Regions from separate parts of the Homo sapiens genome. Here all the other regions are linked to region 1. Evidence: promoter capture Hi-C in human tissues and cell types (Jung and others, 2019). All regions are on one chromosome and are shown on one strand. The core of a region is centred on a gene start or on the middle of the fragment in contact, and the rest is flanking DNA. Distances in the headings are between cores, read along the strand shown.

What was found. The method cuts DNA at HindIII sites, captures the fragments that hold promoters and counts their contacts. A contact is called where the count stands out against the background at its distance.
Region 2: a fragment that was not itself captured here is called in contact with the fragment with the promoter of CHRDL2 in region 1 in 1 of the 25 tissues and cell types used here (IMR-90 fibroblasts).
Region 3: a contact is called between a fragment that was not itself captured here and the fragment with the promoter of CHRDL2 in region 1, in 1 of the 25 tissues and cell types used here (hippocampus).

What each region holds. Positions count from the first base shown.
Region 1 is chr11:74,729,819-74,733,465 of GRCh38, reverse strand. It overlaps CHRDL2 (chordin like 2), which reads left to right and starts at 2,040. Exons shown (of 11, transcript NM_001278473.3): 1 at 2,040-2,659. The coding sequence starts at 2,578. The HindIII fragment of the contact is 7,141 bases long and covers 1-3,647 here.
Region 2 is chr11:74,422,270-74,425,916 of GRCh38, reverse strand. No RefSeq gene overlaps it. Among named protein-coding and RNA genes, the nearest start is that of MIR548AL, 25 kb to the right of the region's middle. The HindIII fragment of the contact is 6,614 bases long and covers 1-3,647 here.
Region 3 is chr11:74,473,298-74,476,944 of GRCh38, reverse strand. No RefSeq gene overlaps it. Among named protein-coding and RNA genes, the nearest start is that of KCNE3, 7.6 kb to the right of the region's middle. The HindIII fragment of the contact is 4,261 bases long and covers 1-3,647 here.

The DNA of each region.
Region 1 (3,647 bases), core at 791-3,290:
ATCCCAGCACTTTGGGAGGCTGAGGTGAGTGGATCAGCTGAGGTCAGGAGTTCAAGACCAGCTTGGCCAACATGGCGAAACCCCATCTCTACTAAAAATACAAAAATTATAGGTGGTGCATGCCTGTAATCCCAGCTACTCGGGAGGCTGAGGCAGAAGAATCGCTTGAACCCAGAGGCAGAGGTTGCAGTGAGCCCAGATCACGCCACTGCACTCCAGCCTGGGCGACAAGCGCAAAACTCCATCTCAAAAAAAAAAAAAAAAGGAATGAAGTTGGCCTCAACTCTGGGGATAATAGGGATGGACAGGAGGGCTGAGATGGTGGAGGCCTTTTTTGAAGTATGATGGGCAGGATGTAGGGGAACCCATCTTAATCCACTTCTTACATCTAAGACATGAATATATGTGCACAGCACATTTTAAACAAAGAGAAAGGAAAAGATCACTGTCCCAAACCCTTGGGATGAGATTGTTTATGCAATTAAGCAGCACAGGATTTAACTCTGAGATCCCTGGAAGCAAAGGCAAAAAGGGAAGCATGGTGACATGCATAAGCTTGCACTATCTGTTAAAATAAAGAATACTCAGGGGAAAGGAAGAGACTGGCCAGATTAGAGTAGAAATTAAGCCTGAAGGGCACTGGACAGATCATGTTTGTCCCTGATCCTGAGAGCCCTAGGAAGGGCCAGTTTGGGGATCACTGGTTCCTCCTACTGCTCTCTTTTGGAGGGTGGAGATCTTGGGGGTAATACCCTGAAAGCACAGTGCAATGGGGAGCCCAGCCTTGGCCCAGAAAGATACCTTTACAGCCAGCCAGCCAAGTGTTTAAACCCGGAAATATGATTCCCTACCAGAGTGGGATATGGCTCAACATCCCTTCCCACCTCATACTCCTCTGGCACTCTTTGGAGTCTCCATTAGCTCTTCAAGAGAAGCTGGGCAGAAAGTTGAGGTCCAAAGCAAGGATAGATGTATTTACTCAAAGTGGCCCAACAAGTTACGGATGGAGCCAGGACAGTGACTCTGCCCTTTTGATTTCAGAGCTTGTGTGTTTCTGGTCTGGCCAGAGCTGGCTATTCTCTTCTTAGTGTCCTATTAGTGCATGTGTTCATTCAACACAAGAGATGGAGCACCATTTGAGGGCTGGAGGGTGTCAGGGCCCTGTCCTCAGGGAGCTCCCCTTCTGGTGGGAAAGAAAACTCTTTGACAATCAGCTCTCCCTAAAGATGACTGAAGGTGACCATCACTCCCAGAGAAGTGCAGGCCTCACCTGCAAAGGCAAAGGAGAGATCTTGCCTTGATTCGGGAGTGGGAGCGGGGAGCAGAGGAAGACCTCCAGGGGAAGGCACAGGATCCCTATGGGCTGACTTTCCTGAGAATGGCGCATGGGCAGACGGAGTGGGGACAGGGGCCACTGGTATTGTAGGCACCTGGAATTAGGACCCCTTCTCTTTGTGGGGTGAGTGTTTCGACGTTCATTACCTTATTTCATCTTAGCAACACTCGTGGGAAGATAGTAGAGATATTTTAAGATCTTAAAATGCCCATTTTAAAGCTGGGAAAACAGACTCTCCGGTGGCGTGCTGTAGACCACAAACTGAATTAAGAACGCCAGTGTTCTGATTCCATCCATCTGCGGAGTTCCGGGCACGCACCGCCGAGCGCCTTACCCTGAGCCTTCCCGGTACCCGCAGCCCCGACAGCTCAGCCTTCCCCACCTGAAAGTTCCACCTGAGGTCTCCCTCAACTCTGCCCTCCTGCATTCTTGGCGTCGCGGGGAGTCAGGGGTTAAACCCCGTGGCCCGCGTGGCCCCTTCCCCCTCCGCAGCCCCCTCGCCTCCACTCGGCGCCGCGCCTGGAGCGTCCGTCCCGGAGACCCGCACAAGAGAGGAGGGGAAAAAGTGGGCCTGTTTCTCGGGTGGCCAATCCACCGAGCCCGCGGTGCCCCAGAGGAGGCGCCAGCGCTAGGCCAGCGCCAGGCCGGGCTGCCTGCTTCCCGCGGCAAAGTACAAATGCGCCCGAGCGCGGCGCCTGAAGCCCTTGGCGAGCACAGCCGGCCCGCGCTCAGCCTCCCTCCGCGGCCGCCGCGCCGCCGCCGCTGCTGGGACCGCCGCCCCGCCGGGCCCCAGGCCCCCGCGGCCCGACCCCGAGCCCACCGAGCAGGGGGCGCCGGCCGCCTCTAGCCCGCGCGCCCGCAACACCCGCTGGTCCCGCGCGCCTCGCCCGGCGCTGCGCGCTCGGCAGACGCCGGTCCTCTCCCTGCTTTCTCCTCCTCTCCCTCTCACCTTCCCCCTTTCTTTGATCGCCTCTCCCTTCTGCTGGACCTTCCTTCGTCTCTCCATCTCTCCCTCCTTTCCCCGCGTTCTCTTTCCACCTTTCTCTTCTTCCCACCTTAGACCTCCCTTCCTGCCCTCCTTTCCTGCCCACCGCTGCTTCCTGGCCCTTCTCCGACCCCGCTCTAGCAGCAGACCTCCTGGGGTCTGTGGGTTGATCTGTGGCCCCTGTGCCTCCGTGTCCTTTTCGTCTCCCTTCCTCCCGACTCCGCTCCCGGACCAGCGGCCTGACCCTGGGGAAAGGATGGTTCCCGAGGTGAGGGTCCTCTCCTCCTTGCTGGGACTCGCGCTGCTCTGGTTCCCCCTGGACTCCCACGCTCGAGCCCGTAAGTAGACCGGGAGGCTGGGTGGGCAGAGGAGGGATGCGGCCCCTGGAATGTGAGGGACAGCGCCAGGACCTGGACCCCAAGCTCTTCTGACAGCCGTCCAGGCAGCACCTGTGCCGGAGGGGTGGAGACTCCGTGAGGACCAGTATGGGCCGGGGGACCGGAGGAACTCGGCACAACTCAGAACTGAGAGAGGGCTGCTGCCAGGGACCTGAGGAGGGGCACCAAGGGCAGCGGGGGGAGAGGGCAGGGCACTGTGTTTTGGGTTGGGGGAGGACTTACTGTTCCTAGGAGGGAGTCGGGTATGTCTGGCTACAGGTAAGGAGTGTGATGGAGAAGAAAAGGCTTTTTGCCTTTGGAAAGAGCCATTGGACAGAAATGAGAGGTAATTAGGATAACCTTCCCATTCTTTTCTCTCTTTTGATCCTCGCAACTCTCCAGTGAGGTGGGTATTATCATTCGCACTTTACAGATGAGAAAACTTAGGCTGAGCAAGGAGGAACTTGCTAAAACTTACAGAGCGGGTAAGCCATCCAAAGCCAGAACTCTAGTTCCAGATCCCATGCTTTATTCCCTGCCTCACATTGTCTAGAAGGAACCCTGAATTTGCAGTGTGAGACTCTGGGAGGCGGCAGGGCACAGTGAGATAGACCAGCGTCTTCACCATCCCAGCCCCGCTGAATGCCAGCTGCTGGGAGGCCGTCACAGAGTGCACCTCTCTGACCCTGGGTTTCCTAATCTATAAAGCGGAAGTAAAAATCCTAGGAGAGTTGATAGGATTAAATTAGAGAAAAGAGGTAAAGCAGCTAGCACAAGACTGGTGCTTGATAGCTTCCAAAAAAAATCAGTTCCCAATTATGCTTTTCCACATAGATACAGTGTAACATCAAACAGGTTACATCATCAATCTGAGCCTCAGTTTCCTCACTGCGCCCACAATAGGCTGGTGGTCCCCCCTCCCCATGCCCAGCCAATCTCTTAGAATGCT
Region 2 (3,647 bases), core at 680-3,179, 310 kb after region 1:
ATTTCAAGTCTTTGTCTACTAAGTCCAATGTCTGGGCTTCTTCAGGGACAGTTTCTGTCTAACTATTTCGTTCCTTTAAATGGGCCACTCTTTGATTTATCTTTGCATGTCTTGTAATTTTTTGTTGAAAACTGAGCGTTTGCAGCTGGGTGTGGTGGCTCATGCCTATAATCCCAGCACTTTGGCAGGCCGAGGGAGGTTGGTTACTTGAGACCAGGAATTCAAGACCAGCCTGGTCAACATGGCAAAACCTCATTTCTACAAAAAATACAAAAATTAGCTGGGTATGGTGGCACATGCCTGTACTCCCAGCTGCTCAGGAGGCTGAGGCATGAGAATTGCTTGAATCTGGGAGGCAGAGGTTGCAGTGAGCTGAGATGGCACCACTGCACTCTAGCCGGGATGACAAAGCAAGACTCTGACTCAAAAAAACAAAACAAAACAAAACAAAAAACCCACACACAAAACTGAGCATTTAAATAATATAATGTGATTAATGTGGTAACTCTGGAAGTCAGATATTCCCCCTTCCCCAAGTTTGCTGTTGTTAATTGTTGAGGACTGTAGCCATCCATTTATTTAATGATGCTTTCAAACTGTTTTTGGAAAGAGTGTATTCCTTGTCATGTGCAGTTACCAAAGCCTCTGTTCCATTATCTCAGTGCTTAGTGAAGTGACCTAACAAAGATTTCCTTAAGTACTCAGAGCCAAAAAGAGAAAAAAATACTACTCTTCTGGTCTTTGCATCTTGGTTGTGAGTGGGGACATTTTTTTCACCCCTACACCAGGCCACCTACAGGTCTGCCTTTGCCTTTACTTCCTGTATGCATGGAGCCCACAGATCTTCCAGAGGTGCCAAGCCTATGATCCTCTAAGGCCTTTTCTTTTCTTTTCTTCTTTTTTTTTTTTTTTTTTAGACAAAGTCTTGCTCTTGTCGCCCAGGCTGGAGTGCAATGATGTGATCTCAGCTCACTGCAACCTCCACCTCCCGGGTTCAAGCCATTCTACTGCCTCAGCCTCCCAAGTAGCTGGGATTAGAGGTGCCCGCCACCATGCCTGGCTGTGCAAGCACATGGTCCTGGGAATGCATGGTCATCCCAGCATTTTGGGAGGCCGAGACAGGCAGATCACCTGTGGTCAGGAGTTCGAGACCCGCCTAGCCAAAATGGCAAAACCCTGTCTCTACTAAAAATACAAAAAATTAGCTGGGCGTGGTCACGCATGCCTATAGTCCCAGCTACTGAGGAGGTTGAGGCACAAGAATCACTTGAACCCGGGAAGCGCAGGTTGCAGACAGCCGAGATTGCGCCACCGCACTCCAGCCTGGGCGACAGAGCAAGACACTGTCTCAAAAAAAAAAAAAAAAAAAAGCCATAGTGCTCTCTTACCAAAAGTCAACTGCCCTTTTCCTTATTAAGCATTCCCCTGGTTCCTGTAAGTTTTGGATATTTCAGGGTCCCAAAAAGTTGATTCTGTCAGTCTTTGATAGCTTATGTTTGTTTCAGTGGAAGCACCAATTCTTTGAGCACCCTACTGTGCCATTTTCTATAATGTCACCTAATGATGCTGTCTTGATACTATTTTCCTTCTCTCCCCAGGCCTGAATCGTTGGTCTGTAGTTTTGATCCATCTCTCCTCACTGCTTGGGAACCCATCCAGAGCCCTGTCTGCTCAGCCTGCACCTACCCAGTACCTTCAGGTTCCCAGCAGCTGCACATGGTGAATTCTTATCATGAAATATTATACATAATTTTAAATAAATGAATGAGAGCTACATTATCAACATAAAGATATCCCATAAATGTAATTTTGACTGAGACAAGCAAGTTACAAAAAGAGCATAAAGTATAAAATTATTTGTGTAATTTAAAAATACACAAAACCAGCCAGGCGTGGTGGCTCACACCTGTAATCCCAGCACTTTGGGGGGCCAAGGCAGGTGGATCACAAGGTCAGGAGTTCCGGTCCAGCCTGGTCAACATGGTGAAACCCCGTCTCTACTAGAAAAATATATAAATTACCCAGGCATGGTGGCACGCGCCTGTAGTCCCAGCTATTCAGGAGGCTGAGGCTGAAGAATTGCTTGAACTCGGGAGGCCAAGGTTGCAGTGAGCCGAGATCATGCCACTGCACTCCAGCCTGGGTGACAGAGCGAGACTCTGTCTCAAAAAAAAAAAAGCACAAAACCATAGATACATACCAAAATACTGATAATACTTCTCTGGGTGAAAGGACCACATAAAGTTTTTATTTTCTTTATTTTGCTTATATTGTTTATTTTCTATATGTTTTAGTTGTGCATTGCTGCTGTAACAAATTACCATGAACTCAATAACTTAACCCAATACAAATTTATTATCTTATGCCTGGAGGTCAGAAGTTCAAAATGGGTCTCATAGAGTCAAAATCAAGGTGTCAGGAGGGATGAAGTCCTTCTGAAGGATCCAGGGGAGAATCCATTTCCTTGCTTTTTCCGAGTTCTAGAGGCTTCCTGATTTCCTTGGCTCATGGGCCCTTCTTCTCTCTCTAAAGCCAGCAATGATAGGTTCTCATAGCACATGACTCTGGCCCTGCTCCCATCATTATATTTCATTCTCTGATCTCTTCTTCCTCCTTCTTCTGCTGTTAATGACCCTTGTGATTACACTGGTGCCACTTGGATGATCTAGGATAATGCTCCTTATCTGAAGATCCTAAACTTGATCACATCTGCAAAGTCCCTTTTGGCATGTAAGGGAACATATTCACAGGCTCCAGGAATTAGGATATGGACATCTTTGGAAGGCCATTATTCTACCTGATACATTATAATAAATATGATATGCTTGAAAGAAGGAAAAAAACATGAGTTCAAAGGCTTCTTAAAACTACCTGCATAATGTGCTTGGATTTGCGCCAAAGCCAATGATCTTATGAAAATCCTCTAATCATCATCGTCCAACTTTACATTTTATAGGCCCAAAATAAAGAACAAGTAATAAACAAAAATCTACACAAAGGTTGTATATTCACCCTGCAGATAAAAGACTGATGCACCTGTTCCAACATTATTCATTTTTCCTGCATATAAGTTTGTATCATAACAGTATAAAAATATTATGTCAAAGGGCTTTTAACTCATCTTCACTGACTATAAAAGAAATGCAAATCGAGATGACCATTTTTTACAATGTTGGAGAGAATGTAGGGTAAGAGGCACTCTCACAGTTGGTAGGAATATAAGCACAGCTCCTAGGGAGAGCAATTTGACAGTATCTGTCAAAACTTAAAATGCACATACCCCTTGTCAGCATTAACTCTATTTCTAGGGGTTTTTCCTGTAGATACTCTCACATGTTCCCAAAAATATAGATACAAGAATATCTAAGGTCCCATTGTTATAATGGTAAAATATTGGAAGCAGTAAAAACGTCCATCTGTAGGAGAGTGGTTAAATAAATTGTGTATGTTCTGAGGTTAAGAACCAAGATTGCACGTTAAAGAAAGTGAAAAGACAAGCAACAAGCTGAAAGATCCTACAAATATCGAGGATATATAAAAACTCTTACCAATTAATAAGGAAATAGTACAATAGTGAAAGGTACAACAGACATAATCAAACATATCACAGAAGAAACACATGAGGCTAATAAACATATGAAAATACA
Region 3 (3,647 bases), core at 332-2,831, 260 kb after region 1:
AGACACAGAACACTTACTGCCTCCTGAGGCAGCCTTCCATTCTTGCACAGTTCTGATTGTTAGAAAGTTACTCCTCAAAGCTAAAATGTGCCACCAACATTGTCATAATTCTGCCCCCCTGCACTAAGAGGACTTCCCTGGCCATGCCCTACATCCCTTTCTAGTGGTACTGACCACACTCTATTATAGTTCCTTGTTTCCATGCCCGATCCCAACCAGACTGTGAGCTCCCCAGGCAGGGACTATAGCTGTGTCATCCATGGCCTTTTCAGCCCCCAGTCCCGGGCCTCCCACAGAGGAGGCACCCAGAAACAGTCTGTGGAATCAGAGAATGGATTGTCTCAGAAGTGGTCTCTACTTCAAGTTAAACATTCCTTATTCTTATGTTCTTCATGGCTTCCAGACCCCACACCACTGCCCTCATCTCCATAGGCTCCAATTGGCTAATGTGCCCTTAATCTATGCAGCTTGAAGATAACATGTATGGTATGGTCTGGCCAGGTTCCAGCCTGTGCTGGACCCTGAGGACAGAGATGGATCCAACTTGGTCCATCTTCAAGGAGCTCACCGCCTTGTAGAGAAGACACACCTGTAAACAAACACATGCAGTAAAGTGTTATACACACTGAGAGAAGCTTGCATAGGGAACTGTGGGGAAATAAAAGAAGTACTAAGTCTTAAAAGGGAGGATGAGGGCAGAAAAGGCTCAAAGTGACACTGAATTAGTGAGGACTTTGGGTTGTAGGTAACAGGAAACCCAGCTCAAACTAGCTCAAGTGAAAAGAGAATATTTTAGATCTCATAACTGAAAAGTCTGTGGATAGACTTCAGGCACAGATTGATCCAGGGACTCAAACAATGGCATCAGGACTTGGTTTTTCTTCCTCTATTCCTTAGCTCTGCTGACCTCAGAATTGGCTTCACTCTCTCCTGTGTGGTGCCAAAGATGGCTGTTGGTCACACCACACTTAGATTCTATAGCTTAGCCACCCTTACTTCCGTATACATTCAGCCTAAGGCCCAGGAAGGATTCTGGATAAATCATCACTCCAAGGAGCGTCATGACCCTCTTGGAACAAACAGATGGGGCTTAGCCCCACCTGAACCATATGGGCTGAGAGCAAGAGAGGGAAGGGTGACTCCCCAAAAGGAAGAGAGAGGTTCTATTCCCAAAAGAAGGAATTCTGGGAAGGCCAAGACATCAGATGTCCACTATGGCTTCAGAAGATAAGAATTGTGGGATAGATAAGAAGACATGGTGTGTTCCAGGCAGAATAAGAAGCATGAGAGTCTCTGAAGTGTGAAGCTAATCTGGGGAACTCAAGTGCCTATCTTGCCCCAGACTATAGCAGGTGTTTTAGGTGCTCCATGTATATTTGCCTGGCCCTTCCATTTCAGTGCCATTTCAAATATCTGTTAGAAACAGTCATTTCAGGCTGGGCACAGTGGCACAATCCTGTAATATCAGCACTTTGGGAGGCCGAGGCAGGAGGATCACTTGAGCTCAGGAGTTTGAGACCAGCCTGGGCAACGTAGTAAAAGCCTGTCTTTACAAAAAATGCAAAAATTAGCCGGGCATGGTGGCGTACACTTGTAGTCCCAGCTACTTGGGAAGCTGAGGCAAAAAGATTGCTTGAGTCCAGGAAGTGAAGGCTGCAATGAGCCAAGATCATCACCACTGCACTCCAGCCTGGAGCCTGGGTGACAGAGTGAGACCCTGTCTTAAAAAAAAAAAAAGAAGAAGAAGAAGAAGAGAAATAGACATTTCAGTGTCTATTTCCACCTGCCAGCATCTGTACCTTTTTTCTCAGGACTTTTGGAGGGACCGGGGCTGTCAACCCATGTGTCAGGCTGGACATGCTGGAGAATTCATATCCCCCGAGCAGCCCTCAGCCAATGACTGACTCCCCTAGCCCCCTTGCCTCTAATGAGGGGTAACTCTGGATGTGTGTTCTACCCAGGCCTCTAGGGTTCCCTAGCAGGGCTAAGCTTGCTAAGGGTACACCTTATGAAAGGCTCCATTCACTCCTGTGTTACTTCACCACTCTTCTAATTGTGTTTCCTGGGATCACGTCACACATGAACCACTTGTACTCAAATCCATGTCCCAGGGCCTGCTTCTGGGAGAATCCAAGATAGCCCCAAACACATTCTTCTAAAAACAAAGCTTAAGTCAGTGTCAACACTTTTTGTTTTTGTTTTGTTTTGCTGCCACACTATCCTATTTACTTAGGTGGGATAACAAATATGCATAACATCTGAGGTACAGCCCCTCCTTCCAGGAGCTCCTGGTCTGAGGGGAAGGCAATAATAAGCATTTCATGGTTTTCAAAGTGCCTTCTCAGCTGTGAGTCCATTTGCTCCTTGGAACACTGCAAGGTTTGCAGGACCAAGATTGTTGTTGTGCAAGTGAGGAACACAGAGGCTCAAAGTGGGGCAGTGACTTGGCCCAGGTCCCAGGGCCGATGATCCTTGGCTGACCCCTTTCTTGGCTTGTGCCTGTGTCAGCACCATCCAGGTGGTCTCTTATCACTAAGAAGAATTAGGGAATCCCTCCTTCTCTGTAGGTTCAGCCAGACCTCCAGTAAAGACACCCACATCTGTTGCTTGTTTTCTAAACATTGATGACTTTGGAGGTAGAAGATTAGAAGCACCAAAAACCAAACAGCATTCTGATCCCCCCAGGGGCTGCTTCGTCTATTGCTCCCTCTTGGACTAGGGGCTCTCCCAGTGAGAGCAACATTTTCCATGCAGTCAGGGCCATTCTTCCCATATCAGACTGTACCCTGCCCAAGAACAGGGACTTACACAAGGATGATACATATGAAAAAGGGGAGATACGTGGGATGGGAGCAGTCAGGGGACACAGACAAAGGCATCTAATTTAGGGCAGGGGAGATTTCCGGGAGGAAGTAGCATCTAAGGGTGAGTTAGCCGGCCCCAGGAGGAAGTATGTTCCAGGCAGAGAGAACAGCATAGGCAAAGGCCTGAAGATGACAGAGAGTATGTGGATATTTGAGGAACTGAGATTGTCCCCTCCTGCTCCTTTCTGGGGTGAAAACCCAAGCTCGCATCCTCCACCCACATTCCTTAGTTCTTCTACTCCTTCCTCCCACCCCTTGCCTGGAGCACGCTGAAAAGGATCAGGGGAGGACCCTACTCATCTGACAGATGCACTGCCTGTGCTGGATCCTTCCACGTGTCCCTTCATGGGTTCACCACCCTTCTCCACCCACAGTAGGCCGCCTGACTCTGGAGCTTCCAACTGGGTTGAGCCAACAGGAGGCAGTGGTAGAAGACCACAGGATGGGAGGGGAGAGAGGGAAAGGTGCTTGTTCCCCTGGCTCTCTCCCTGCGAGAGGTTAGCCTCTACCAAAGGCCACAGCTCCAGCCGAGATGCCCTCCCCACCACTGCCCTCTCTGAGTTCCAGTAACCCCTTCCTCCCCTTGCCCTGTCAGCCCAGGTAGTTTTCATCCTCACTGTTGCTAGCCAGACATACTGCACTATTTTGTCTTGATTTCCTAAGCCCTCGCCACACTCTGAATTACCCATTTTCAGGGTGCCATCTGTTTCCTACCTGGACCCTGGTGACGCACAGCCCTAATCCACAGTTAGAGGATGGACGGGGTATGCTAAGCCCTGCAAA